7 separate regions of the Homo sapiens genome follow, and regions 1, 2, 4, 5, 6 and 7 are each linked to region 3. Evidence: promoter capture Hi-C in 16 types of primary human blood cells and fetal thymus (Javierre and others, 2016). All regions are on one chromosome and are shown on one strand. The core of a region is centred on a gene start or on the middle of the fragment in contact, and the rest is flanking DNA. Distances in the headings are between cores, read along the strand shown.

What was found. The method cuts DNA at HindIII sites, captures the fragments that hold promoters and counts their contacts. A CHiCAGO score of 5 or more calls a contact.
Region 1: a fragment that was not itself captured here is called in contact with the fragment with the promoter of ZZZ3 in region 3 in 1 of 17 cell types (erythroblasts); the score reaches 6.7 in erythroblasts.
Region 2: a contact is called between a fragment that was not itself captured here and the fragment with the promoter of ZZZ3 in region 3, in 1 of 17 cell types (total B cells). The highest score is 6.1, in total B cells.
Region 4: a fragment that was not itself captured here is called in contact with the fragment with the promoter of ZZZ3 in region 3 in 1 of 17 cell types (total CD4 T cells); the score reaches 5.3 in total CD4 T cells.
Region 5: a fragment that was not itself captured here is called in contact with the fragment with the promoter of ZZZ3 in region 3 in 1 of 17 cell types (naive B cells); the score reaches 5.1 in naive B cells.
Region 6: a fragment that was not itself captured here is called in contact with the fragment with the promoter of ZZZ3 in region 3 in 2 of 17 cell types (neutrophils and monocytes); the score reaches 6.7 in neutrophils.
Region 7: a contact is called between a fragment that was not itself captured here and the fragment with the promoter of ZZZ3 in region 3, in 1 of 17 cell types (erythroblasts). The highest score is 5.0, in erythroblasts.

What each region holds. Positions count from the first base shown.
Region 1 is chr1:76,054,755-76,058,394 of GRCh38, forward strand. It overlaps LOC124904200, which reads left to right. Exons shown (of 5, transcript XR_007066173.1): 3 at 759-850; 4 at 1,355-1,459. Among named protein-coding and RNA genes, the nearest start is that of ST6GALNAC3, 18 kb to the right of the region's middle. The HindIII fragment of the contact is 2,133 bases long and covers 374-2,506 here.
Region 2 is chr1:76,104,728-76,108,193 of GRCh38, forward strand. All of the region lies in intron 1 of ST6GALNAC3 (ST6 N-acetylgalactosaminide alpha-2,6-sialyltransferase 3), which reads left to right. Among named protein-coding and RNA genes, the nearest start is that of ST6GALNAC3, 32 kb to the left of the region's middle. The HindIII fragment of the contact is 1,808 bases long and covers 1,240-3,047 here.
Region 3 is chr1:77,680,220-77,684,085 of GRCh38, forward strand. ZZZ3 (zinc finger ZZ-type containing 3) reads right to left here and starts at 2,439. Exons shown (of 15, transcript NM_015534.6): 1 at 2,366-2,439. RefSeq lists enhancers at 2,495-2,574, 3,392-3,866, 3,595-3,694 and silencers at 2,955-3,374, 3,385-3,444. The HindIII fragment of the contact is 10,120 bases long and covers 1-3,866 here.
Region 4 is chr1:76,160,123-76,163,942 of GRCh38, forward strand. The region is part of intron 1 of ST6GALNAC3 (ST6 N-acetylgalactosaminide alpha-2,6-sialyltransferase 3); the gene reads left to right. Among named protein-coding and RNA genes, the nearest start is that of ST6GALNAC3, 87 kb to the left of the region's middle. The HindIII fragment of the contact is 3,441 bases long and covers 1-2,997 here.
Region 5 is chr1:75,764,024-75,767,667 of GRCh38, forward strand. No RefSeq gene overlaps it. Among named protein-coding and RNA genes, the nearest start is that of RABGGTB, 20 kb to the right of the region's middle. RefSeq lists an enhancer at 344-403. The HindIII fragment of the contact is 734 bases long and covers 1,078-1,811 here.
Region 6 is chr1:76,079,093-76,082,990 of GRCh38, forward strand. All of the region lies in intron 1 of ST6GALNAC3 (ST6 N-acetylgalactosaminide alpha-2,6-sialyltransferase 3), which reads left to right. Among named protein-coding and RNA genes, the nearest start is that of ST6GALNAC3, 6.3 kb to the left of the region's middle. The HindIII fragment of the contact is 2,466 bases long and covers 188-2,653 here.
Region 7 is chr1:76,038,866-76,042,592 of GRCh38, forward strand. It overlaps LOC124904200, which reads left to right and starts at 2,499. Exons shown (of 5, transcript XR_007066173.1): 1 at 2,499-2,818; 2 at 2,920-3,033. The HindIII fragment of the contact is 1,992 bases long and covers 282-2,273 here.

The DNA of each region.
Region 1 (3,640 bases), core at 190-2,689, 1.6 Mb before region 3:
AAAGCATGTTGCAGTAAAGTTAAATAACAAAATTCTGATCGGATGGTTTCTGTCTTTTTTACAACATGGGTTTATTTAGCCTTAATTATTAACAACAGTTGCATACTCAAAGATTTCTAGATTGATAGCTATTTTCCCTCAACATTTAAAATACATTATTCTATTATCTACCTATTATTGCTGAGAAGACTGTCAGTTCCATTGTTACCGTGTCTTATTTTCTTCTCCCCGGAGCTTTGTTTACTTCTTGTTTTGGATGTTGTGCATTTTCAGTAAGATGTGTCTTGTTGTGTATTTGTATTTTTATTTATTTTGCTTAAATTTTGCTATGATTTATTACTAAATATAATGACTTCTTTCTTTAATTGTGGAAAGCTTTCAGACACTCTCTTTGGATATTGGTTCTCCAATCTCTCCATTCCTTCCTTTAGGAATTCCTATTAGATGTATGAATTAGACTCTTATTTTAACCTTTTAGTATCTTAATATCCCTTAGATATTTCATGTTTTTAATATCTCTTTTATTTGTGCTGCACTTGTGCTAAAATAATTTCCCTAGGTCTATCTTACATTTCATTAATTCTTTGTCACCTGTGTTGGGATTTCTATTTCAATGAGTATACTTTTTGTCACTATGATTTCAATTTCATCCTTTTCAAGCATGCCTATGTGTTTTTTAATATTTTCTACCTTTAGCTCTTTGGACATGTTAATCATGTTTATTTCTAAATCTCTTTCATTTTCTTCCATTATTCCAGGTGATGGTGTGCCAGTTCTGCTCTCTGCTGTATCTGTGTCCTGTTTCCTTATGTCGTTTGTAATTTTTGATCACAAGCACATTTTCAACAAGGTTTGTTTACCATGGGACCCCCATGAGGCCTGAACTACAGAAGTGGTTTGGGGTTTGCCTCTGCCAGGTCCCTGGAGGTTTCATTGGCCTTAGATTAATTTTTATGTTAAACTTCTGTGGTAAATTGTGTTTCTGGAGAAGACCACAACAATAGACCCTCTCCCAATAGCTCTTTTGTAATGTGATCTTGCCACTCCTCCATCAAGAGGTGGAGTTTATGATCCCTTCCCCTGATTCTGAGCTGCCTGTGACTGACTTTGATTGACAGAATGTGGCAGAAATGACACTGCATCACTTCCAAGACTGGCCTTATGAGACTCCCAACTTTTGCTTTCACTACTTGGAGAGCTCCCTTTTGGAGGCCAGTCATCGTGTTAGAAGCATAACTAACTGGAGACCACTATGTGGTGGAGAAGCTCATGCTGTCTACATATAGAGGGAAATGGCATATCAATGAATTAAACATGAAAGTGAAGATTTCTTGGCCCTCTCCATCTTACTCAGCTCATTGGAGCCACCAGCTGAAAGCAAGGGAGTGAATGAGCCCAGCCCCGAGTGGAGCAGAAGGAGCCCAACCAGCGAAGCCCAGCCTGAATTCCTGACTAACAGGTGATGAGCAAGTAGTTTGAATCCACCACCTAGCCTTGAGATTCCGATTCTTGCAGTCGATCCTTTTCCACTCATTGTGTAGGCAGTTGGGAACATGTCTTCTCATTTCATTACTCTAGTGGGGGAAACTTTTCAAGTGTTTCACTGGGGCCCTTTCCAGTCAGATTAGTTTACTGCAATGACTAGAAATGCATCTTCACTCATGATGGCCCAGGTTAATTCTTGACCCCTCTGGCACAACTGTCTCTCATCATCATAAAGAAGCATAACATATATAACTATTCCCTCTCTTATGCCACCCCTCTCCTCACAAACATGTAGTGGTTTCCAATTTTCTATGAAATAAAACTCTTGTTTTTCAGTTCCAGATATTTTTATCTAATGAAAGGCCCACATTTCTTATTTATGTATCTATTTATTTATTTATAAGAGATGGGATCTCACTATGTTGCCCATCTGGTCTTGAACTCTTGGCCTCCAGTGATCCTCCCACCTTGGCCTCCTAAAATGTTGGAATTATAGGTGTGAGCCATCGCATCCAACAAAATCCCCACTTTTCTTATCTCACTGGTCTACATATCTGTTTCTCAGTCAACCTGAACTATCTCTTCTTACTCTATGTACCCCACTCCATATCCTGTCTCCATAATTTTACTCTCATTATTCTCTTTGCATGAGATACCCAAAGCTCTGGTGTTCACATGTAGATAGATCTAACCTATCTTTCAAACCCCACTAAATCACCTCCTCCACTATAAAGCCTTTTTTGGTAACCCAAGCTATAATGTCTCCCTCCTTTGAAGCCCAGTAATATTTTTTACCTGTCAATGTCTTATGATTTCTACCTTCTCAGATTTTTAAAGCATAGTGGTTTAGAATAGAAGTTGACAAATTACAGTCCAAATTACTGACCAAATCCAGCCCACTATCTGTTTAGGAGAAATAAAGTTTTATTGGAACACAGTCACGCTCATTCATTAAGATACTGTCTATGGTTACTTTTGCACTACAATGGCAGAGTTGATTCTTCGTAAGGGAGACCAGCAAAGCTTAAAATATTTGTTGTCTGGCCTTTTACAGAAAAAAGATTGCTGATCCTTGATTTAGAGCATGAAAATTGGATTTTGTATTACACCTTAATATATATATATATATATATATATATATTTTATTTTACTGTAAGTTCTGGGATACATGTGCAGAATGTGCGGGTTTGTTACATAGGTATACATGTGCCATGGTGGTTTGCTGCAACTATCAACCCGTCATCCAGGTTTTAAGTTCTGCATGTATGTATTTGTCCTGATGCTCTCCCTCCCCTTGCTTCCCACCCTGCGACAGGCCCCAGTGTGTGATGTTCCCCTCCCTGTGTCCATGTGTTCTCGTTGTTCAACTCCCACTTATGAGTGAGAACATGCAGTGTTTGGTTTTCTGTTCCTGTGTTAGTTTGCTGAGAACGATGGCTTCCAGCTTCATCCGTGTCCCTGCAAAGGACATGAACTCATTGTTTTTTATGGCTGCATAGTATTCCACGGTGTATATGTGCCACATTTTCTTTATCCAGTCTAACATTGATGGGCATTTGGGTTGGTTCCAAGTCTTTGCTATTGTAAATAGTGCTGCAATTAACATATGTGTGCATGTGTCTTTATAGTAGAATGATTTATAATCCTTTGGGTATATACCCAGTAATGTTACCCCTTGATATTTACCAGCTGTATGATTCACAGCTTGCTGTGAAGGCCAAGTGACAGAATATGAATGCACTCTTTTGGAATCTATAAAGTATAAATGTAGAGTGTTACTATTGCTATTACTTTTGCCTAACTCAAAGTGTGTTATGGTTTGCCTCTAACTGAGTAAACAGTTCTTATAAGGAAATGGAAAGAAAGTAGAAACAGGATGGTGTCAGTGAGATACCACCTTATTCCTGCAAGAATAACCATTATCAAAAAATAAAAATAATAATAGATGTTGGCAGGGATGTGATGAAAAGGAAATGCTTTTAGACTGCTGTGGGAACGTAAACTAGTACAACCACGGTGGAAAACAGTGTGGGGATTCCTTAAAGAACTACAAGTAAAACTACCATTTGATCCAGCAATCCCACTACTGGGTATCTACCCAGAGGAAAATAAGTTATTATACAAAAAAGATACTTGCACACGAATGTCTATAGCA
Region 2 (3,466 bases), core at 894-3,393, 1.6 Mb before region 3:
CATACCTGAGACTGGGCAATTTACAAAAGAAAAAGGTTTATTGGACTTACAGTTCCACAGGGCTGGGGAGGCCTTACAATCGTGGTGGAAGGTGAAAGGCATGCCTCACCTGCGGCAGACAAGAGAAGAGAGCTTGGGCAGGCAAAGTCCCCTTTTTAAAACCATCAGATCTTGTGAGACTTATTCACTATCATGAAAACAACACGGGAAAGACCTACCTCCATGATTCAGTTACCTCCCACTGGGTCCCTCCCACAACACGTGGGAATTCAAGATGAGATTTGGTGGGGAAACAGCCAAATCATATCAAAAGTTTTATCTGGCATATCTAGTGAGTCATTATCAGAAGCAGTAGTCTCTCTGAAGCTTTTCTCATCTATCCACCTTACATTTTTATGATTAAAAATTCCAAAAATTACAGAAGTGGAGGGAATAGTCCAAATATTCCCCCATCACTCAAATGCAACTCTTATCAAGATTTTGTCACAATTTGCATGGAAATATTCACAACCTATAAGAAGAGAAAGTTTTAAAGCAAGGCAATATCTCAACTCACAGCCATCCACTTACCTCTAATGGCCAGCATCAGAGACAAAGACTTCTGCCTTGGTTACTGCTGTCCTGAGCTTCTAGCACAGGTGTGCCCCTAGATGATTTCAGTGAGCTATTGTTAAATGAATGTGAATTCACTGAAGAACCACAGACTGTGGGAGCTGGAGGAAGTCTTGGCTTGTCGTAATGAACCACAGATTACAGATGGAGATGCTGACATCCTGAGATTAGGTCACAGAGGTGCATGGGAGAGTTAGGCCAAGGTCTCAACTCAGGGCTCTCTCCACTTTTCCACACTTCCTCCTCATTTTGCTAGCTCATTTAATTACCACTTTTTCTTCCTTTCTGATAACACTGAAGTTTAAGAGCATTTCATTACAAGTGTGATGATACAATGTGGTATTAAGACATGACAAGGCAAGTTTTATTGGCCATTACTATTTGCCTCAAGTGAGTGGCAAAGCCTTTGACCACTCGAGGCATATATTAATAGCCCTATAAAATACATCCTGGATTGCTAGTGCTATTACCGTCTGGCTATTACATTTAAAAAAATATTGTACAAATACCACTTCAAATAATTTTCTTACTCTTTTTTTTAAACTGGAACGATTAGCTTTTTTTATGAGAGACAATTCTTCACATGATGGAGAAAATAGAATTGTCAGGTAACATGGAAAGAGTATAAGCTTTGGAGTCGTACCAAACTGTGTGCAGGTATTTGCTCTGCTATTTATCATCACTGTGACATTAGGCACTTTTCTTAAACTCTCTGGGTCTATTTTCTTCTCTGTCAAATGACAACAAGAATGCTTGTCTTTTAGAATTCATATGTATATGAAAACACCTGGCATAGGGCCTTGAACATAATGAGTGGTCAATAAATCTTATATTTTTGTTGTTGTTATTATTGTCATGATAATGAAATCCAATGGGAAATTTTTTCTTTTAATTAGTTGATTTATTTGTAAGACTAAAAATGTTGTTGTTATAACAGATCCTTGTCTTGCAGGGCAGTCTTTCTTTGTTTCCTCTCTAGCCCTCATCCCTTGGAAAAATGAGCTGAACCATGTTGGTTGGTGCAAGAGGGGCTGACAGAAGAGAGTTTTGATAAATCCACAAGATAACTTTGGAAACTCTTTGCCATTTTCCCTCCTACTCAATGCTGCTGGGACTTTGAGCTCGCTGAGGCAGTCTAAGGCTGTGCTTTGACTTCAGTGCTGTGCCTTGTGCTTGGGATAATTGTGTTTTCCATTTGATGGCCCCCAATGCTTTGTGTAGGAATTGGATGGTGCACCCATGCTCCTCAAATGCTGAAGCAGTCATGTCACTTGGTGGGGTGAGGTGGATCATCAGCAACAACATACTTTTCTTTTCTTTTTGAATTAAGCACACGGAAAAATCCATAATCTAAACATGAGGGACATTAAGTTTTGGATGGAAGAGAGTGAATTTTGCAACAATAACAACTAAAAACCCAGGACACAGAACAATTATTGAAAACAACTTGCTGAAGTATATAAATAAATAAAAGTGTCATTTCTGAAGTATCTTTCCTTCCCTAGGCTCACTGCCATTGTCATGGGAAAAGTGTGCATGGCAGCATTTACTCTGAGGTAATAACATGGATACATTTCCCGTTGCTCAAGACTTGTACATAGAGTCTGAAGACAAATTCTTCCTATCTTGCTGAGAAATTAACTTCTATTTTTCCATTCCTGTGAGCCAGAAGGGTAATTACCACATGCTGTTCAGTCATGAGTTTATGGAAAGAAACACAGGCTTCATTCAGGGTCTTCACCAACTGGGTGGGGTTGGGTTGGTCATGGAGAGAACTTACATTGTGGGTTTACAGCTGTACTGCAAACATTTCTTCAAGTCTGGAGCAAACTCAGCCCCTCTTTCCTGACTAACTTCTTCCCTGCCTAATCCAATGAAGACAATGGTTGATGAGAATAATAGCAGTTATTGCATATTAAGTATTAATCAGACATGTTATTCTTTAAACACACTTTTGCTTTTTTTTTTTTTTTTTATAATAATCAGGCATCCAATGAGATCTGTCCTCTTTTTATCCTCATTTCACTGAGAAGGAATGGTGGCTCTGAAGAGTTAAATAACTTGCCTAAGCTCACAATTTTAGAAGGTATGGCCAAGACTCAAACCCAGATTGGTCTGATTGTCAAAGTTGTGTTCTATTCTTAACCAATTTTCTACTTTCTTTGGTACCATGATTATCTCCTTGCCTTATAAATATTCTTGTATGTGGTATTATCTTTGTCTTATTATTCATAGTACACAGGGGCTTTTTTTCTTCCTACTTGCATTTCCAGTTCCTTCCTTATTAATCAGTGTGAGCTTTTTGCGATTGAGCCCTCTTTTCTCTTGCCCCACCCGCCAGCCCACCTCCTGTTCAAATACAGCCCTGCGGGTGAACACTATGGGCGACCCATGTGTGTGGGCTCATAGGAAGATGCAATGTGGAGAAGAATGGAAGCTTCTATGGCAGATCTACATTCTTTTTTCTGTCCTCTCCCTCTCTCTACACCCAATGTACTTTATTTTTTGGCCCATTTTTGCTCCTATATGCCCTTTCATCATCCTCAGAACCTGTACCCTTGGCATTTTGTCGGTAGACATTTATATTTCCTGGCATTGAGGCTATAGATCTCTAATACTTGAATTGATTTTCAAAATTAGGGAAAAGAGCTGCGATTTTAGCTATATATTTGGGCTGTTTGAGTTGAAAATGATGAAGAGTAAAGTAATGTTTGCTGTAAGAGGTGGGAGGCAGGACTGTGACACGGTCAGCTGACTCTTAGATGTGTAATAATGGTCTGGCACCACCAGTCTCTCACTGTCTTCTTGAAATCACCTCTAAAGAAGAGTTTGATCTGGAAGGTCAAGCCTAGCA
Region 3 (3,866 bases), core at 1,189-3,688:
ATCTAGCAATTCTGTGAATAGACCCAGAACTATCTAAAAAAGAATAGGAGGAGAAAGTTGCCTCAAATACCGACTCGGGCTGTCCTCCAACTATTATGAGCCTGACTATTCTTGCACCATGGCTCTTGCCTCACTGTCAACCTTCTACATTCCTCTTTTCTCCCCAACTTGTCCAATTCCATTTCAGTATCAACCTCTACACTCCCAATGTCCCCTTTTCCTCTTTCCAACATCATACCTCTCAACACTCACTTCTATTCCTCAACATTTCTACTTGCACTGTTACAACAAAAAACCACATTGCCCAAAGAGTGGACAATTCTCTTATGTGACTGGTCTGATAAATATTATTACTGGTAGGTTTGGCGGGGGGAAATTACAAAAACAACACTTACAAAATGATAGCCGCTTAGCAACTTCAAGTATATATACCTTTGTTTGTACTAACTACTAATGTCTACCACTCTCCAATTGAGATCACTAAGTTGCATGGTCAAACTATCATTTTAATCACAGTGATAAACTTTTAAAACGTCTGAAAAACTCCTATATAGTTAGGTTACAGTTTAGAATATATAATATATAAAGTTAAATACATAACACACATTAAAGATAAAAATATAAAACTCAAGTGATAAAACATTAATTTATTTAAATCTTGTTTTACATGTACTTTCTTTCTGTGCAAAGCTACCAAGCACAATAAATCAACTTTACTGCAAAAATAAGTTACTTGTGATATTTTCACAAGATTATACTACCAAAAAAATCAGTACAAACAAAAAAAATCTGCGTAAGTATGCATACGTAAGTCTTGACAAACAGGCATATATCACTAAATAAAAATTTAATTTAGTTAAAAAATGTTTACTGATTGCCAATATTGTGTTGGTACCCCATTAAAACAACACTTTCTCCCCTTCATTTAAGAAACAAAAACTAAACCAAAATATGGAAATATCTGGAATGATACACAGCAACCACAAAGGCTGGTTACAGAGATTTAAGACTGAGGAATGGAACTTTGTGGTACCGTGAAACAAGCACTGTGTTACTCTATACTATATACCTCTCTGTATTATGTATAGGAAAAAAAAACACTTTTGTAGTTTTAAAAAACAAACTATGAATAAATTAACTAGTCACCTGATTCGTTTTGTAATTAACTCCCCACTCCTTATTTAGTACTGCAACTACTAAATAAAATCCAAATACTACTTAAGAATACGAAAAAACAAAGGTATACTGTAAATTCACTTCTGAGACATTAGGGAATTGGAGAGAAATATTAAATTGATTTCAAACTCATTTAAGAAAAATAAAGCTCAAACTCTGATGCCAAAATTTATGAGTTTGCTCTTTACTAAAAAGTTGACCTGAGGCCGGGCGCGGTGGCTCACGCCTGTACAGTGCTGAAATCCCAGCACTTTGAGAGGCCAAGGCAGGTGGATCACTTGAGGTCAGGAGTTTGAGACCAGCCTGGCCAACATGGTGAAACCCCGTCTCTACTAAAAACACAAAAATTAGCCGGGCGTGGTGAAGCGCGACTGTAATCCCAGCTACTCGATACTCGAGAGGCTGAGGCAGGAGAATCGCTTGAACCCGGGAGGCGGAGGTTGCAATGAGCCGAGATCGCCCCACTACACTCCAGCCTAGGCGACAAGAGCGAGACTCCGTCTCAAAAAAAAAAAAAAAAAAATCACATGAAACAGTCTGTTACCTTAAATATATAACCTAAAACAACCATCCCTAAACTTCAAAGATGGCAACCTCAGTAACACAGTAGTAATTAAAACCCTACCGATAACTGAGTTAATAGGCACGTACAAAATGATGAAAAGCAGGATTTTATTCTGACCACAGGTGTTGTCAGAGACATAATGGGCCCTCCAAATACTGCCAAAAGTTACTGAAAATACGAAGTCAGGGTGATGAGTAAATGACACCCAGAGAAAATAGATGGGAGGAGTTCTGTTTCAGGAGACTGGAGTCAGGTACTGCAGCAGAAAACGCGACACAATAGTTAACCGGTCTGGAATACTTTAGAAAATGGCAAGAAGGGAAAAACTGACAAGAACATCTTAAAGTAAGAGGAACGGTATCCAATGGAATCATCAGGTCTGCGCGAGCACGGCTCCCGGACTTCCAGTGAGTGGGACAGGGTGGAACTATCACTGCGTGGGGAGAAGGACCTGGCTGAGGGGTGCATATGCTTTTGCAGGTGGTGGAGCGCCCGCAGGGGGATGGGGAGGGCAGTGTTGCCTCAATGGGGTTACTGTATTCCCTTCAAGACTATGGGAAGCTGATGCAGCACGTATCCCGGCACCAAGAGGCACTCGCCCCGGGCCCCTCCCTAACGACTTGCCTTGTAGAAAGAGTTGCAGGTCCCAGGCCCCCGGAACCCAAGGCTCCGCCATCCAGGACAACTGCTCTGCCAACGAGGTCCCGCGAGAATCGAGAGATCTCGCGATACAAACCCACTCGCATCTCGCGAGCTTCCACTAGACCCAACATGGCGGTACAGAAAAAAATCAGTATTTCGGAACTTAAAAAGCACTTCACTAACGGAGTAGTGAACATTTAAAACACTGAGACAGTAGGAAGTCTTTCCGCTTTATACGTCTCCTCCTTTCCCCTTGTACAGAAAAGCAGAAATCTTAAAAACCTCCGATTACCACGATTATACTACATAAACAGAGCGCAGTGCGCTGCCCCAGGCAGCCTCCCTGTCACGTGGAAACATTTTCGGCGTGCCCGTCACGTGGGCCGCTACTGAGCGAGCGCGCTCCCGACGCCCTCCCAAAAGCCCTCCCCGCCCCCCCTTTCGCCCGCGCACACGTGCGCGCGCACCCCCGCCCCACGTGGGGGCTTCGCCGTCGCAGCCGTCGCAGCCGTCGCAGTCGTCGCCTCCAGCCCACCCCCTCCCGGTACTTGGCTCCAAATCCGGGTCCCAAGCCGATCGTTTCCCACCCCCATTCCCTCCCCCTTCATTCTCCCTCCCCCGTGTCTGGCCCTCACCACGTGTCCCGAGCTCTTGCTCACCTTTCACGCGGGGTCGGACGCAACGGGCCACTTGGGGAGGCGCCGCCGCCGTGGCCGCTCTCCGCCCCCGCCACGGCACTTGCTCGGGTGGCCACCGCTGCAGGAAGCTCGATAGCGGCGCCGCGGCGCTTCCAGGTGGGTCCCCGCCTCCCGCTCCTGCCACTTCCCGCAGCACCAGCGGCTCCTTCCGGTCCCCTCCTTTCTCCTCGTTGGGACTGGCGGGCGGCGGCGGCGGCGGCGACCGCTGCTGCTGCTGTTGCTGCTGCTGCAGGCGCGCTCACTACACCGCCTGCTGGTAACCGCGGCCCGTGCAGCGCCCGCGGGTCGGGCGCCGCCGAGGCCCTCCCCGGCCAGTCCCTGCCCCTGGGCGAAGTTTGGTCTTCCGAGGGCGGGTTGCAGTCCATCCCTTGCAACCGTCCAACCTGGCCCTAGCAGAGGAAAGGCGTCCTCGTAGCTCCGCCATTGGAAATCGGCTTCATCCTGCCCTTTGTGGCCTCCTGAGAGATTTGTAAACCCCACCTCCCTTAGCACTGTGGTCTCAAGCCAGGAGAACATCCATACATGTATTTATGATCGTGCTTCTGCCTCGCCTCGTTCACCTCTGGCTTGTACCACAGCACGCAGGCTCGAACCACTTCGGGCCTTTGTGCTTGCCGATTTCTCTGGCAGAACATTTCCTCCAGATTTTTTTTAACTCCTCGATGTTCGATGCATATTTCAGGTCCCTTCTCAGAGGGCTGCCCAGACCACTGTATCCAAAAAAAGTACACCTGCACCATTGCTTTAACTCTTCACCTGCTTTTATTTCTTCATAACAGTTACAA
Region 4 (3,820 bases), core at 27-2,526, 1.5 Mb before region 3:
TTGTATTCCAAGTAGAGGAAGGAATGTGAGTGGACACACAGATGGATGAAAATATATAATGTGTTCAGGGAATGGCTAGTAATCCCAGAGGTCAAGAGTGGCAGGCAGTGGTTGGCTATTACACTTAAAAGGTTAAAGCTAATGCCGTAAGCATTGGGGAGCTCTCAGAGGATTTTAAGAAGGGGAGTCTGTGTCTAGATACACTTCAAAAGGGTTCCTGTAGTAGCAGTGTGAAGGCTGGTTTGGGCATGTGTCAGAATCATTTGAAAGCCAGGAGGGCCTGCTGGAAGGCCTCGCAATAGTCTAGGTGAGATCATGCATCGGCTTTGGGATGTGGCAGTAGAAGTGCTGGCTTCTTGTGGTTTTGGGGGTTGGTGCTTCACAGAGTGAAGAAAGAGGTGTCACAAGGGTCATTAAAATCCCACTGGTGTGCCTGTTGATATAGGAGGCACCCATCTTACTCTCTAACGGTGTTCTACAAACTAGCCAGGCTGTGAACTGTTCATTACTGTTTGGGCCAAAATAAGGGGCTTGCACCAGAATATAAATCAATGCATTGCTTCCATCACGGAGAAAATCTTGGTGCACACACACACACAGTCTACTGAAGCAAAAAGTGTGCTTAGTGACAAAGTTGATTTGGATTCTAGTGCAAGCTCTTATTTCCTTGCAGCCCACAAACAACATGTGGACTTTCACCAGTCCACAACCATAAATAGAGTAATGCTGCTGTATAATCAACATATCTTACTTGCTCTATACTTCAAATATCTTCTTCTCTACAGCTGAATTTTGTAGATGAAAAATTTATTTTAAAGTTTCAACATTTTAAGAGGTTTCTTTTTACTCTACAGGCAAGCCACTTATGTAAAGGACCCATCTTTTAATTTTTGAGTTTTGGAAACTTACATGAGTACTTAACCTTGATTAATAATTGATAACTCTTTCTGTAGAGATGGGCCGGTGACCTCTTGCTACTCTCCAGCATTGTTAAGTGCTATTGCCTTTCAGACTTCAGATTCTTTCCAACCTCTAACACTTGGGCCATTATTCCTTCTCCAAGGTTCTCAGAAGTGATAGAGCACTGGAGAGGCAATGAAATCAATGATTTCTCTATCACTTGAGTGTAAAGTGTAAACTAAATTATCACTTAGCAGCCATGTTATTAAAGGGATTCAAACATTGGTAAAGTGTCTGGACTAACAGACTTTCAAGATTCTTTGCAACCCCGAGGTTTTCGATTTGTCGGAGGTACAGAACTGGTAAGCGGCAGAGAGCGGCAGCACCTAGGTTTCCTGACCCTTGCTGCTTGCTTCCCTGCCGCTCCCCTCAGTCCTTCATCAAGAGCTGCAGAACAAGTTCCACTCTCCCTGGAGGATAGGTGCTGTGGGTCTTCATTTAATGGTGGGACCTCTGGAGATTTTTCTCTCTGCTAATCACCCAAGGATGCTTTACATACTCTACTGAGATCTAAATTTATATTGCAGATGGGCCGATGCTGATGTCTTAAAGTACTTGCTGGGAAGATAATACCCAATCTCTGGAGAAAAGAGCTTTACATTTCTTTTTACTGAGGGCTGTTCTGTAATTTGGCTCTCCTAACTCTGGCTTGCCCCAACAATGAGCTACGTAATTGGCCTTAAAGGGACACCCATTGATTTGGACAGGGTCTGTACATACACCAGTTAAACACAGTGCCTCATGCTGGGTCTGTGTATTTCTACTGGGCTTTCTTTTCTAAATGTTATTTAATTCCAGAGTTTGCATTAGTGCTTCAGTCAAATATTGTCAGGCTTTGGTCAAAAACCCTTAACTGAAGATCAGGGTTGGTCATAAAAAGTTGGAAATCGACATTTGCCAATGCCAATTGGCAGACAGTTGGCACTCAAATTGGGGACAGGGCCAGGCAAAAAAAGGTCTTCAAAAACTGTGCTCCAAAATCCTCTAAAATCCACTGTGGTTGCATCATTGCCCAAACTTACAGCTTAATATGTTGGCTTTGCTGCTTAACAGCTGTGTGAATGGGCATGTTACTTAACCTCTGTATTTCTCCATCATAAGATAGACATAATAAATTTAAACCCATGGGTTATTGTGAGAATAAATAAGATAATCCATGTAAAAGATGCTCAGCCTAGTCCCTGGCATATGGCAGGTACTCAAGAAATGTTTAATTTGAATCTGTTGCATGCGCATTCTCCGTTGTAGCCAGATAAGTCTCTCTGCACCATGAAATGCCATTCTATCCCTGCCTTTATGCTTTTGTTTATGAGCAGAAGGAAAGTATGACCTAATGATTAATAACATGGCCTTTGCTGTCAGGCACACCTGGCTGAAGTTTTGTTTTCTCTGTTGCAGGACGCGGGTGAGTTAATTAGCTATTTTAAGCCCCAGTTTCTTCACCGTATAATGGGGGAATAATGGTACTGACCTTACAGTGTTGTAGTGAGGGTTTAAATGAGATAAAATTTGTGGATGCCTGGTTAAGACAATCATGAGCCAGCTTATTGAGCTCCTATTATGAGTTGGTCCTGGAGGTAGAGTGGTGAGCACACCCAGCTGGGTCTAATGGATGTATAACCATAAACAGTTACAAGCCTTAAAGTAAATATTTACAAATAATTACAAAGGGGCAATGTATGTAAGTGCCAGGTGAGCAGTTAGCAAGGGGGCCCAGCTAGGTCTAGGGGTCACATAAAACTTCTCAGTTACCTTGAATACCATACAGGATGTAGTATTAAAGGTTGACGTGAAGGACAAAGAGGAGGTGACCAGGCCCAGAGCTGGGGAAAGACTGTCCAAGGCAGGGGAATAGCATGTGTGTGGACTCAGAGACCGGAGAGCATGCGCTCTGTTTTGAAGAGCTGAGAAAAGTCCTGCGTGGGTCTTGTAGGTGTTCAATCAATGGCAACTGTCATTATTCTAGATTCCCTCTCAGGGTGCTGAATCCTAAAGCAGCTTGAGTGCCTACCTTAAGTCTTTTTCTCTTTTTAATGAAGCTTCCTTTGACTAACTCAGAACTGATTCCAATCTACTCTAAAACCTTATAGTATTTTAGTCAGTGCTATATAGATCAACACTTAGTTATATGATTTTAAAAGTTGTTCTTGAAGTTTTATGTATCTTTCCTGAGTCATCAAATTGATTGAAAATTCACTGAAGAGCCCTGATTTTGTATTATGAGTCTCCAGAGGGCTTAGCACAATGCTGAGTCCACAGTGATTAACAAATATGTAATGCTTGTTGCAGAAATATATCTTCCACCTAAAATTCTGTAGTGTACCCTGGGCAGTGTTGGGAGGGTGTACACTTGGGACCCAGATTCGACAACTTAACCATTTTCTATGTGTATAATCTTGGGCAAGTCATTCTTTTTAAGCCTCAGTTACCTTGAATAAAAAATGAGGATAGTACCATAGTTCATTTACTGTAAGACTCATTTTCTTTTCTTCACATTTTAACATCTCTAAAACTTGAATGTGTCTTACAATAAATGGCATGTTATAGTTTAATTGGCAGTATTTTTTTTCTGTGTTGGTGATTATAAAATAATGGTGTGTCTTAAATTCAGTGACATTTTAGGTTTGATGAAATAAATACAACTTTTACATTTTAGGATGGTTATGAAAATTCAAGCTAATTTACACAATTCATTTGTCCACAATTCATTTACCTGATGTTGGCATGACAGTGAAGAGGTAGCTGCAGACAATCAAAATCATTCCTGTGATCCAGTACAAGCTTTGCTAACTGCCAAAGTTAAAAACTGTTACGGCCGACATGCATGCCAGAACTCAAAAGCCACCTACCTTTAGCCTCA
Region 5 (3,644 bases), core at 195-2,694, 1.9 Mb before region 3:
TTTATATCAGAAAGGGTACAACTAGGAACAATTAATGAAGAGGTGCATAGGGAAAGGTATGGAGGGAGAAGGGAGGTGCAGAGCTTCCATGCCTTCTTCCAGCATATTACCTTCCCTGCATGTCTCTGTATTCCTCAACGTGGAAGCTCCCCAGCTCAAATTCAATAGTTTCCATGGAGCTCAATCTCCAGTCCTCCACTCCTCCCCAGAGGACCAAGGTGAAAGCTGGAAGCTCCCAACTGTATTAGTCTCCTAGGGCTGTCATAAAAAATACACTGGAGACTTGGTAGCTTAAATAAATTTATTTTCTCACAGTTCTGGAAGCTAGAATTTCAAGATCAAGGTGCCATTTGGGTTGTTTCTAGTGAGGCCTCTCTTCCTGCCTTATAGACTGCCACCTTCTGTGTCCTTACATGTCCTCTTCTCTGTGCATCATGAAGGGTTGGGTTAGGGGGAGCTCTTGTGTCTTTTTCTCCTCTTCTAAGGACACTAGCCCTGTGAGATTAGAGTCCTATCCTCATGACCTTAATTAACTCCCTAAAAGATCCTATCTTCAAGTACAGTCACATTGGGAGTTAAGGCTTCAACATAGGAATTTTGGAGGGACACAACTCAGTCCATAACATCACCCTCTAATTACTTAGTCCTTCTGGTGACCAGATTCCTCCTGAGATTATCTAGGGGCCCCACCCTAAGTCATCTCATGCCAAATTCAGGTATGATTGAAAAGGTTTATAAGGAATAACAGAAGATAACTCCAAGAACTCAAGAAATTCCAAGGGTTTTAGGAGCTCTGTGCCAGGAACAAAGACCTGGGAACAAAGACCAAATAAATTTCTTATACCACATTAAATTACCAAAATAATCGAATTTCTTACAAATATAAAATATTTAAATGACATTTCCTTCATGCTCAATGATGAAATTTTATTTAAATGATACAACTTGAGATTGGTAAGGAGATTTAGAGAATTCTTAATTGGGTATTATGTAGAAATGAGAAGTTAAATAGAATGTATATATTTCAAATGCAAATTTGAATTTGCAGTACAGAGGCCCAACCATTTCTAAACATAAAGCTTCTAGACATGGGCTGGGCATGGTGGCTCGTGCCTATAATCCCAACACTTTGGGAGGTTCTGAGGTGGGAGGATCACTGAGGGCAGGAATTTGAGGCTTCAGTGAACTGTGATGGCACCATTTATACTCCATCCTGGGTGACAGAGTGAGACCCTAAAAAGAAAAAAAAGGTCCAGGCAAGGTGGCTCATGCCTGTAATCCCAGCACTTTGGGATGCCGAGGCGGGCAGATCACAAGGTCAGGAGTTTGAGACCAGCCTGGCCAACATAATGAAACCCGGTCTCTACTAAAAATACAAAAAATTAGCCGGGCGTGGTGGTGAGCACCTGTAATTCGAGCTACTTAGGAGGTGAGGCAGGAGAAACGCTTGAACCCGGGAGGCCGAGGTTGCAGTGAGCTGAGATTATGCCATTGCACTCCAGCCTGGGCAACAGGAGCGAAACTCCATCAAAAAAAAGGAAAGAGAGAAGGGAGGAAGGAAGGGAGGGAGGGAGGAAGGAAGGGAGGGAAAAGAAAAGGTTTCTATACCAGATATAAATGTACTCCAAAAGAAGGGAGGGAGGGAGGGAGGAAGGAAGGAAGGAAAGAGAAAAGAAAAGGTTTCTATACAAGATATAAATGTACTCCAAAGCCTTATGATGAGAATATTATAGAATCCTTGCTAATAAATATTAAGCACTTATGTAATTTTGCATCAGTTAAGCCTTTTTAGTCACAAGTAAATGAATTTAAGCTTCTTTAAGCAAATATGTATTTTAAGTATGTGGAAATGACTCATAGGTCTGAAAGGGAGGAATGAAGTCAGTCTCAGGAAGGGACTAAAACTAGAATAGTCAGTCCTCAGGAATCCATGAAATATATATAGTCTTTTGCTAACTCTCTACTTCTGTCATTTTATTCATTGTTGCTCTATAGTCTAACTTTCTCTGCTTCTTTGATCCCACAATAGAATCAGACTTCACGGTAGCATATTTATATTTTGGATTGACCACCACATTTATAAGCTTGCTGACTAGGGCCATTACAAGAAGGAGGGTAGGTACAGTCATGGACTACAAACATGACTATTAGTTGCCCCCATCAGTGAATTGATGGTTCCTAGAGAAAGCACAGTTTTACATGTGATCTAGTAGGTTTACCAGAATTTTAATGAATGTTTAAGGAATCTACCAGAGTCATCAATTTGCATAGAGGGAGAAGAATTATTCAGTGACTCCTCTGGATTAAAAAAAAAATGGTTGTTGATATGGCTTCTAGAATTACAGCCATTAATTTGAATATATTATCAAATAGTACAAAGGGTCTTTGGAGATTAAAGATTAAATTCCACAGGCAACAGTGTTTTTTCTTTTCTTAATATGTGAAAGACTGTATTTAACTCATTGGATGAGGGAACTAGTACAAAGTTAAAACTGGTATAAGGGAGAATTTAAAGAGCAGATAGAGGCAGTAATAAATGCTTAAAAGAATTTGCTAGGCTGGGCGTGGTGGCTCACGCCTGTAATTCCAGCACTTTGGGAGGCCAAGGCGGGCAGATCACCTGAGATGGGGAGTTCGAAACCAGCCTGACCAACATGGAGAAACCCTGTCTCTACTAAAAATACAAAATTAGCTAGGCATGGTGGCACATGCCTGCAATCCCAGCTACTCGGGAGGCTGAGGCAGGAGAATCACTTGAACCTGGGAGGCAGAGGTTGCAGTGAGCTGAGATCGTGCCATTGCACTCCAGCCTGGGCAACAAGAGTGAAACTCTGTCTAAAAAAAAAAAAAAAAAAAAGAATTTGCTAGTAGATTGACCATATCCTATAGGGCAGGGGTCCCCAACCCCCAGGCCACAAACCAGTAGCAGTCTCTGGGCCATTAGGAACTGTGCTGCACAGCAGGAGGTGTGTGTTGGGCGAGCAAGCATTACTGCCTGAGCTCCACCTCCTGTCAAATCAGTGGCAACATTAGATTCTCATAGGAGCACGAACCCTATTGTGAACTGCACACATGAGGGATCTAGGTTTCGTGCTCCTATGAGAATCTAATGCCTAATGATCTGAGAACATTTTTATCCCCAAACCATCTCCCCTTGCACCCCCCACTGTGTCTGTGGAAAAATTATCTTCCACAAAACCGGTCCCTGGTGCCAAAAAGGTTGGGGATCACTGGTATAGGGCAATAAACCTAATGGGACCATCTTTTCTACAGAGCAGAAATTAGTTGTAGTTAAGGTTCAGTTGCATTACTTTCCTTTTTTTTTTTTTTTTTTTTTACAATTTAACATCTACATTTACAATTGTATAACAGTCTGTCCAATAAAAAGACAATGGTACATATCCCATCAGATAATATGCAGAGGATCCATTAGATAGTACCTAGCACACCACTAAAGGGACGCCCAATAATTTATTGTATCCTTTTTCAAGGCTTTGACAGTGTTTCTTAACAGTCTCTTACTTTTCATCAAAAGGAATCTGCCACAAGTATTCCTGATCAGTAAAAAGCAAATTTCATTAGGTTTATGTGGATTATTTGCCTAGGTACAGCAAGAGTGTTCGTTAGTCATGTAGATCTCCTCA
Region 6 (3,898 bases), core at 171-2,670, 1.6 Mb before region 3:
TCTTTTCATTAAGCAGCTCTGATGTCTTCTTGGGCCCCAGAGCCCTTGTCAGATTCTCTGTTTTCAGCAGCTCCAGGAGACAGATTACAGGGAAGATCTCGTGGGGTTGTTTAAAAAGTCTCTCAAATTTGATAGACAGGAAAACTCTTTGCTTTAATTTGTATTTATTTGATCATTAGTGAAGTTAAGCTTTTAAATTTGTATTAGTCATTTGTCTTTCTTCTTTTATAAATTATAGATACTTTAAAATTTTATGCAAGAAAATCTATCCATATTTTCTTTTATGATTTCTACCCTTGGTCAGCAGGTACATTTTCAGCACAGTGTCTTGTACACTTTCATTTTTAAAAAATATAGGTGAATTGTATTAACTTTTATATTGGAAGTGGACATTGAGTGGACATGTAGACACAAGATCCTTGAGAATCATTTCTGCCTTCGAGAAGATTATGGTTTTGCCAGGTTGATGAGGCTTATGAACATGAAGCAGTTAGCTGATACGATAGATGCATGACTAAGCCACAATTACCTTCTCTCCAGTGACCTGTCCTCATATATTTATCTTGATTGATAGGTAATTAGATGAATGATGATACCAAGTTAGGAACTTGGCGTCTTCTCATTTCCTCTTCCTCCCCCTGCCCCAGATCTAATCCTTCTCCACAGTGCATCAGTTCTGTCTCAGGAAAACCTCTCAACTCTGCCCCTTACTTTCCATCCTTACTCCCCCTGCCTTGTTCAACTCCCACTTTAGAGTCACATCTGTGGTCAGGCCATCCCCTGCCTCAGCAGGCTTCCTCTGTGCTCCTGTGGTCTTAGTTCTTGTCCCTGTAGTAGCAGGTATTACCATGTACTGTCAATAAACTGCTTTCATGCCCAGCTCTTCTTTGACTATCAAATGTTAGGGAGCCGCGGCCTTCCAGTGTTTACTGAGCATCTGTAATTGAGTTCTGTTCTTACCCTAAGTGAGATTATAGACTCAGTGAGAAGGCAAATAATTAAACTAGTAATTAAAAGTATGCGAGGAGTTTGAAAATTACACCTCATGGTATGGGAGTATATGGGTGGGGTGTTGACGGTTACTGAACTGAATGTAAAAGGCAGAAAAGGCTTTGTTTTATTCAACTTGGTATTTCTAAGAACTAGCTTGGCTCTCAGTAGGTGATCCTTAAGTGTTTGCTGAATGTATCAGTGGTGTTATTAATTTTTTTTTATGTCAGTTATAGACACAGGTCCAACCTGTCTTCTGAAAACAGCTGAGCATTTCAAGGATGTGGCATGGATTTTTTACTCTAATGTATAGCAGGCAGATTAGAGCTTGTTGATTAGTTTGCTCCTTAAATTTTTTCTTAGTATGTTTCTTGTAGGTAGGTCTGTTACCATTCCTCATATAAAATCTGGGGCCAATTTAAGATCTGGGGTTGGGGGGATGGGGAGATGAGAGAACTGGACTAGAAGGAGGGAAAAAGAGAAGTGTAGGCGTGGTTTAACTTTTGTCATGATCATTTTGGTTCCCCAGATTAACAGAAACAGATAAACCAAAAAAAAAAAAAAACAATCAAAAACCAAACACCCACAACCAAATGATTGTGTGGTTCTCAAACGATGAGGTCTCAAAGCATTTGAAAACAGTATGGCTTCACTGAGACTGGAAAGCCACAGGGACTTCACAGGTACACAGATGATAAATCTGAAACCGTAGGATAACCCTGGCAAGTAGACAAGTCACTTCATTTAATAAATCTGCTATGACATTTCTTATTGCTGCCCAGGAAATGCTGAATTCTCAGCAGCTGCCTGGCCTAATTTCCAGTCTTACAGTGACTGAGCAGATGCTTTTGCTACGTATATCAGCACATTGTGGGGAATGAGTGGCTTGGGTAAAAGTAGTGCTCTTTGGATGGATTGATAACAACAGCAACAATAGGTGCCATTTATTGAACAGCCAGAGTGCTCAGGCTGGCTTCTGTGCTAAGTAAACTTTTATTACAAATGAAGACACTGAAGTTCAGAAAACCTAAGTAAATTGTCCGATGTCCTGTGGTCAGTAAGTGATGGAGGTGGGGTTCACCCTGACTTCGTGTGGTTGTAAAGCAGGGGTGTTCAAACTTTTGGCTTCCTTGGGCCACATTGGAAGAAGAATTGTCTGGGCCACACATAAAATACACTAACACGAATGACAGCTGGTGAGCTAAAAAAAAAAAAAAAAAAAAGCAAATCGCAAAAGAAATCTCATAATGTTTTAAGAATGTTTACAAATTTGTGTTGGGCCACATTCAAAGCTGTCCTGCGCTGCGGGTTGGACAAGCTATAGAGCTTGTCTTTTACCTTCAGTGCCAATTTAGTAAATATTTATAGGGATTCTGAATTTATTTCACCATCTTCTACCCCAGACAATATCCAGTCTAGACAACTTCCTAATCTGGTGGCCTGATGGGGACCACTTTTAGCTGTGTCGTTTTTATTTGTTCCTTTAAGTTTCCTTTGTGACAGAAGAACTAGAGGAACTAGAGGGGCTGCAAAGACTGAGGAGATAAGAAGGCTTTAATTCTGTTTAATTCTGAATAGATCTTTGACCCTGGGCAAGTTATGTGAACCTATGTGTCCTTTTTGGGGGTGGGAGTGAGGGAGAGTTGGATTTACCCTGAACGCAAGCTTCAGGGCCCTTCCAAGGTTCTGGGAAGAGACACTAGCATTTTGGTATTTATAATTTTATATTCATTTTATCAAGGAATCCCACAAATCGTATACATTTCAGGCTCCCCAACATAGATCTGTCCCTTGGGTGGTGTTGGAGAACCAAAGAGATAATGCTTGTGAATGCACTTTGCAAAGCAGAGTGCACTGCATAGGCATGAAGTGGAAATGGCAAAAAACGTTATTAGTATTATTAGTACTGATAATAGCTGGAATCGAGGAAACCTTTGTTGAAGGACTAGTGGGAGAAAGAAGGGGTTTAGGTCTGAGGAAAACAGGGAAGCCTATTAAGCTTTCTAGTAAACGACTGAGCGAAGTTATGAAAGCTTCTCCCCAGGAGAAAAATTTCTGTTTGTAAGAATTTAACACACACTTATGCCTGAGGGCTGGGAGTTGAATGAGGTTCTTTTCTGTTTCCTGGCTTTAGGGAACAGTGGAGGAAGGCATTTTTCTAATTGGAGGGAGTAGATTTACAAGTGCTACCTGGATCCCATTACCAAAAGCTGCAGTTAGCTCCTGGTTATTAAAAGGCTCATTATTCAGTTTATGGATTATCCAGACCCCATTTGCCTCCAGCCATTCTGATGTACACGTTTTATGCCTTTTACTGCCAATTAGCGCCTTCACCTGAGCAGAGAAAAAAGGGGGTGCTAAACCCCAAATTTGTTAATTTCTCTCCTTGTTAGCAGCTCTGTAAAGGTTTGTCAGCAGGAGAGTGGGCCTAGGAAAAGGTTCAAATGAGGTGAAGGGATTATCTGCGCTTTCTCTATTGCTGTTTCTCTCAATTCAAAAATTGAGACTAGGCTCTGGTTCTGACTGTAAACTGATTTAAAGTCACTAAGTCAGAGACCTTGGCCTGGGATATTAAGAGACTTTAATAAACAGCAGCCCTAGGGTAGGTGACATTCTTTGAGAAGCCCCTTACCCCACACTCCATATCTCCAGGCCTCTCTTTCATTTCCTGTGTGATGTGGAGGTGTGGGGGCCAACAACATCTGGTACTTGAGAGAGTGAGGGAGAATTTACTCCTAAACAGATTTGTCGGAGGCCAGAAAAAGAGGATACTTGGGTCGTTTTCGTGTTTTTTGTTTTTTTTTTTAAAGGTGTGTTTCTCTGTGCACACATAGCAAATATAAATATACATGCACATTCATTCAATCTTATCTTAATATTTACTCAGATTTGAAAACTATCGCACGTA
Region 7 (3,727 bases), core at 28-2,527, 1.6 Mb before region 3:
CAAAGCCCCTTGCTTATTTATATATACCACTTTAAACATATTAAGTATATTAGTTAGAAACATTTTGAATACTAGTGACAAAAAAAAGTAACTCAAGCTAGTTTAGTAAAAAATGGAAATTTATCAGTTCAGTTGTCTGCAGGAGAAAGCAGGGGTGTGGCTGAGCACAGGCCCATGGAGCTAGGGACTCTTGTTCTCTCAGGCCTCTCTTTCTCTCCCTCTTTTTCTTTCCTTTTCTTTTGCACACCACCTCCCCATTCCCCGCTTTTTTTTTCCAGACAAGCTTCTTTACATAATGAGAAGCAAAACCTTCAGCAACATCTCTAGCTGGTTTGGGTTAGATGCCCATCTCTGGACTCATCAATTGTGGCCAAAACAACGGGGCCCTATCGTGTAAAGCCCCCTTTAGAACCTCCGCATGTCTAGAATCAGGGAGAGACGAGATTCCCCAAAGAGGGAGGTTAACATTCCCAGAAGGAGGGAATTATATGATTTCAACTTATATTCTCATATGGATAGAAATGCATTTACCACACTCCTAATGTAAATCAGAATTTCTGATTTTCTGATGCTCTAACCACATTTCCTAATGCTACATTGCACCCAGCACAATGTCTGGCACCCAGAGATGTTCAACTGCTATTCTTCAAAGTATAAATACATTTCACCCATTTTTACTTTCATTCTACTGCTTCATTAAAAATATTTTGTATTTCCTTACATTCCATCTGGAAGTCTATAACTTAGTACCTGTGTAATAAGGGATTTGGCACTATCACCTCTCTAAAATAACATGTTAAAATGGTAAGCATTCTATGGTTTTCTTGGGGAGACTTTTTTTTTTTTTTTCTTTGAGACGGAGTCTTGCTCTGTCGCTCAGGCTGGAGTGCAGTGGTACAATCTCGGCTCACTGCAACCTCCACTTCCCTGGCTCAAGCAATTCCCCTGCCTCAGCCTCCCGAGTAGCTGGATTACAGGCGCACGTCACCACACCCGGCTAATTTTTTTGTATTTTTAGTAGAGAAGGGGCCTCACCGTGTTGGCCACACATGAACTCCTGACCTCAGGCAATCCACCAGCCTCGGCCTCCCAAAGTGCTGGGATTACAGGCGTGAGCCTCCGCGCCCGGCCAGGGAGACATATTTATATGTAAAAAGCAAATGTATCTTGTCATTGGATGCTCATCCACAAGAGTCACAAACCCCATTCTAACACCAGCTTTGTGGTTTACTAAGTGATATCAATTTCCCAGCGTGGCAGATGACAATGTGTGTATGTAACTTGAATAAAAGCCAGGGCAAAGAGTTGAAACCAGCCTCATTGTCTGGGTATTACTGGAAGTTCTTGTTATCACGGCAGAGGAAATCAAGGATGCGGACACTCCAAAGGTGAGGTTAGAGCAGAAGTTTAATAAGCGAAAGGAAGAAAGCTCTCGGGAGCAGAGAGGGGTCCCAGAAAGATGGGTTGCCATTTTACAATGAAATGCAAGGGTTTTTATAGACAAGCTGGTGGGGAGGGTGTTTCATTTACATAAGGCTCAAATTTCTGACAGTTCCCACCCCACTTTTTCTAGTGCTCATGCGGGCTCCTTAGTCTGAGTTACTCCATGTTGCCTATCTCTTCCCACTGCGCATGTGTGAAAAAGGCCAGGAGGCGGGACCCTCTACAGTGGACGCTCCTGGTCCAGGGTAGCTCGTCTTATCAGTGCTGCTGCAGGCACTCCCTGCTGTGCAAACCTCCTTGTCTGAGTATTTCCAAGAAGGGAGAGGACTGTGCTTACTGGGGCCCACTGTATGTCTGTATGTCACACAGGAGGCCCCTTTCTGTGTTAGAAGCTGCTTTTTTGTTAGAAGGGAATTCTACTTAGGACCCTTGCCCTATCTGCCTAGTTGATTTCTTTCTCTCTCCTCTCACAGAGTGTCACAGAAAGAACTCCAATCCATCAAGCAAAAGTAATTAACAGCAATTCAAATCTTTATTGGACTCTTAGAAAATAAACAAGGAGATCTAATTTGTAGCTCCCACATAGATTTTTGTCTCCACTCCTGTTGTTTTTAATTAATTCAATAATATTTACTAAATGTCTCCTATGTGTCAGACGTGCTTCCAGTGCCCATAGAGCCTGCATGTCTCCACTCCCCGAGTTCCCCTCTCCACTCCTTGGATTCAACTCTCAACTTCAAACTGAGTTTTGAAGTCAGTCAGGAGTGGGGGAGGGCGGTTTTTTTTTTTTTTTTTTTTTTTTTGAGACGGAGTTTTGCTCTTGACACCCAAGCTTGAGTACAATCACGCGATCTTGGCTCACTGCAACCTCCTCCTCCCGGGTTCAAGAAATTCTCCTGCCTCAGCCTCCCAAGTAGCCAGGATTACAGGCGCCTGCCACTACTCCTGGGTTCACTTTTTTTTTTTTTGTAATTTTAGTAAGACGAGGTTTCGCCATGCTGGCCAGGCTGATCTTGAACTCCTGACCTCAGGTGATCCACCCGCCTCTGCCTCCCAAAGTGCTGGGAGTACAGGCGTGAGCCACTGCGCCTGGCCGGGAGGGTGGCTCTTGACTTACAGGGCCTCCCCTCCCCTCCAAGGTCTTCTTTAATTCTGCACATTATTTTAATTATTTCTAACAAGTACCTTGATCTTCATTTGTGAAATCTAGTGACCCAAAGGCAGCTCCCAACCTCCCTGGGAGTTGATAGGGGTGGGGTTGGGAAGAGAGGGGAGAGAGGAAGAGCTGCTCTTCCCAAGAAGGGTTTTTGTTTTGTTTTGTGTTTATTTGTTTTGGCTTTTGGTTTTTAGTAGATGGGGGATGTACACGTGAGAGGTGAGGGAGAGAGCAGACTGCAAACCCTGTAACTGATCCATGTATTATCTGTTCTTTTAACTGAGTAACATGCTTTTCAAAAGTGTTTTTCCATGTTTCAGAGACAGAAAAGGGGAGAAAAAGAAGAAGAAAAGGGAGAGGAAAAGGTAAAAGAAAAGAAGAGAATGAATTGCAGCTGAGGAAGTGGAAGAGCGAGAAGCGCTTCCAGATACCAGGTAACCTCTTTCTTTGACTCCTGATTTGCCACTCATCTCCCTAAATGCCTTAATGACCTGTCACACAGGTGACTCACATGAAGGCCACATGGTGTATGTTTCTCTTACCCCTGTCTGCTATTGAAGACATAGGATTTAGTTTTGGGAAGATGTGTGCTGGAGAAATAAAAAGCAGACACAGTGGTTGAATGCAAAATGAATCATAGGAATTATCCAGTAAAATGGCTTAAAATCATATTCCAGGCTCTGAAGTCATGGAAAGTCTCTCTTAATGCATTGGAACCTAATCTAGTAATTTCACCTGGGTTCCCCATCCAGGCATCTCTTTTCTAATTTGTTCAGAAGTAAACAAGGTAACAGCTTTTAAACAGCCAATTGCCATGGACATTGATAAAATCTACAGGTTTCATTACTTGATGTCCAAAGACATTTCGTCCTATTTACATCAAAAACACTTTGGAATTCTGAAAGACAGCAAGCCTTTATTTGAAAGAAATACACGTTGAAGTTCTTTAAGGATGAAAGCAGAACTGTCTTGGAGCTGATGCTAAAGCAGAGTGAGAAGACCATGTGTATTTTCAAATAAATTTTGAAAAACTCCTGAGACTTGGGAAAGGGTGTAATAGAACAGTGCCTATAACTGAGCCTTGCAGAAGCTTATCACAGCATAGAAGAAATTGATGGAAAACTCACA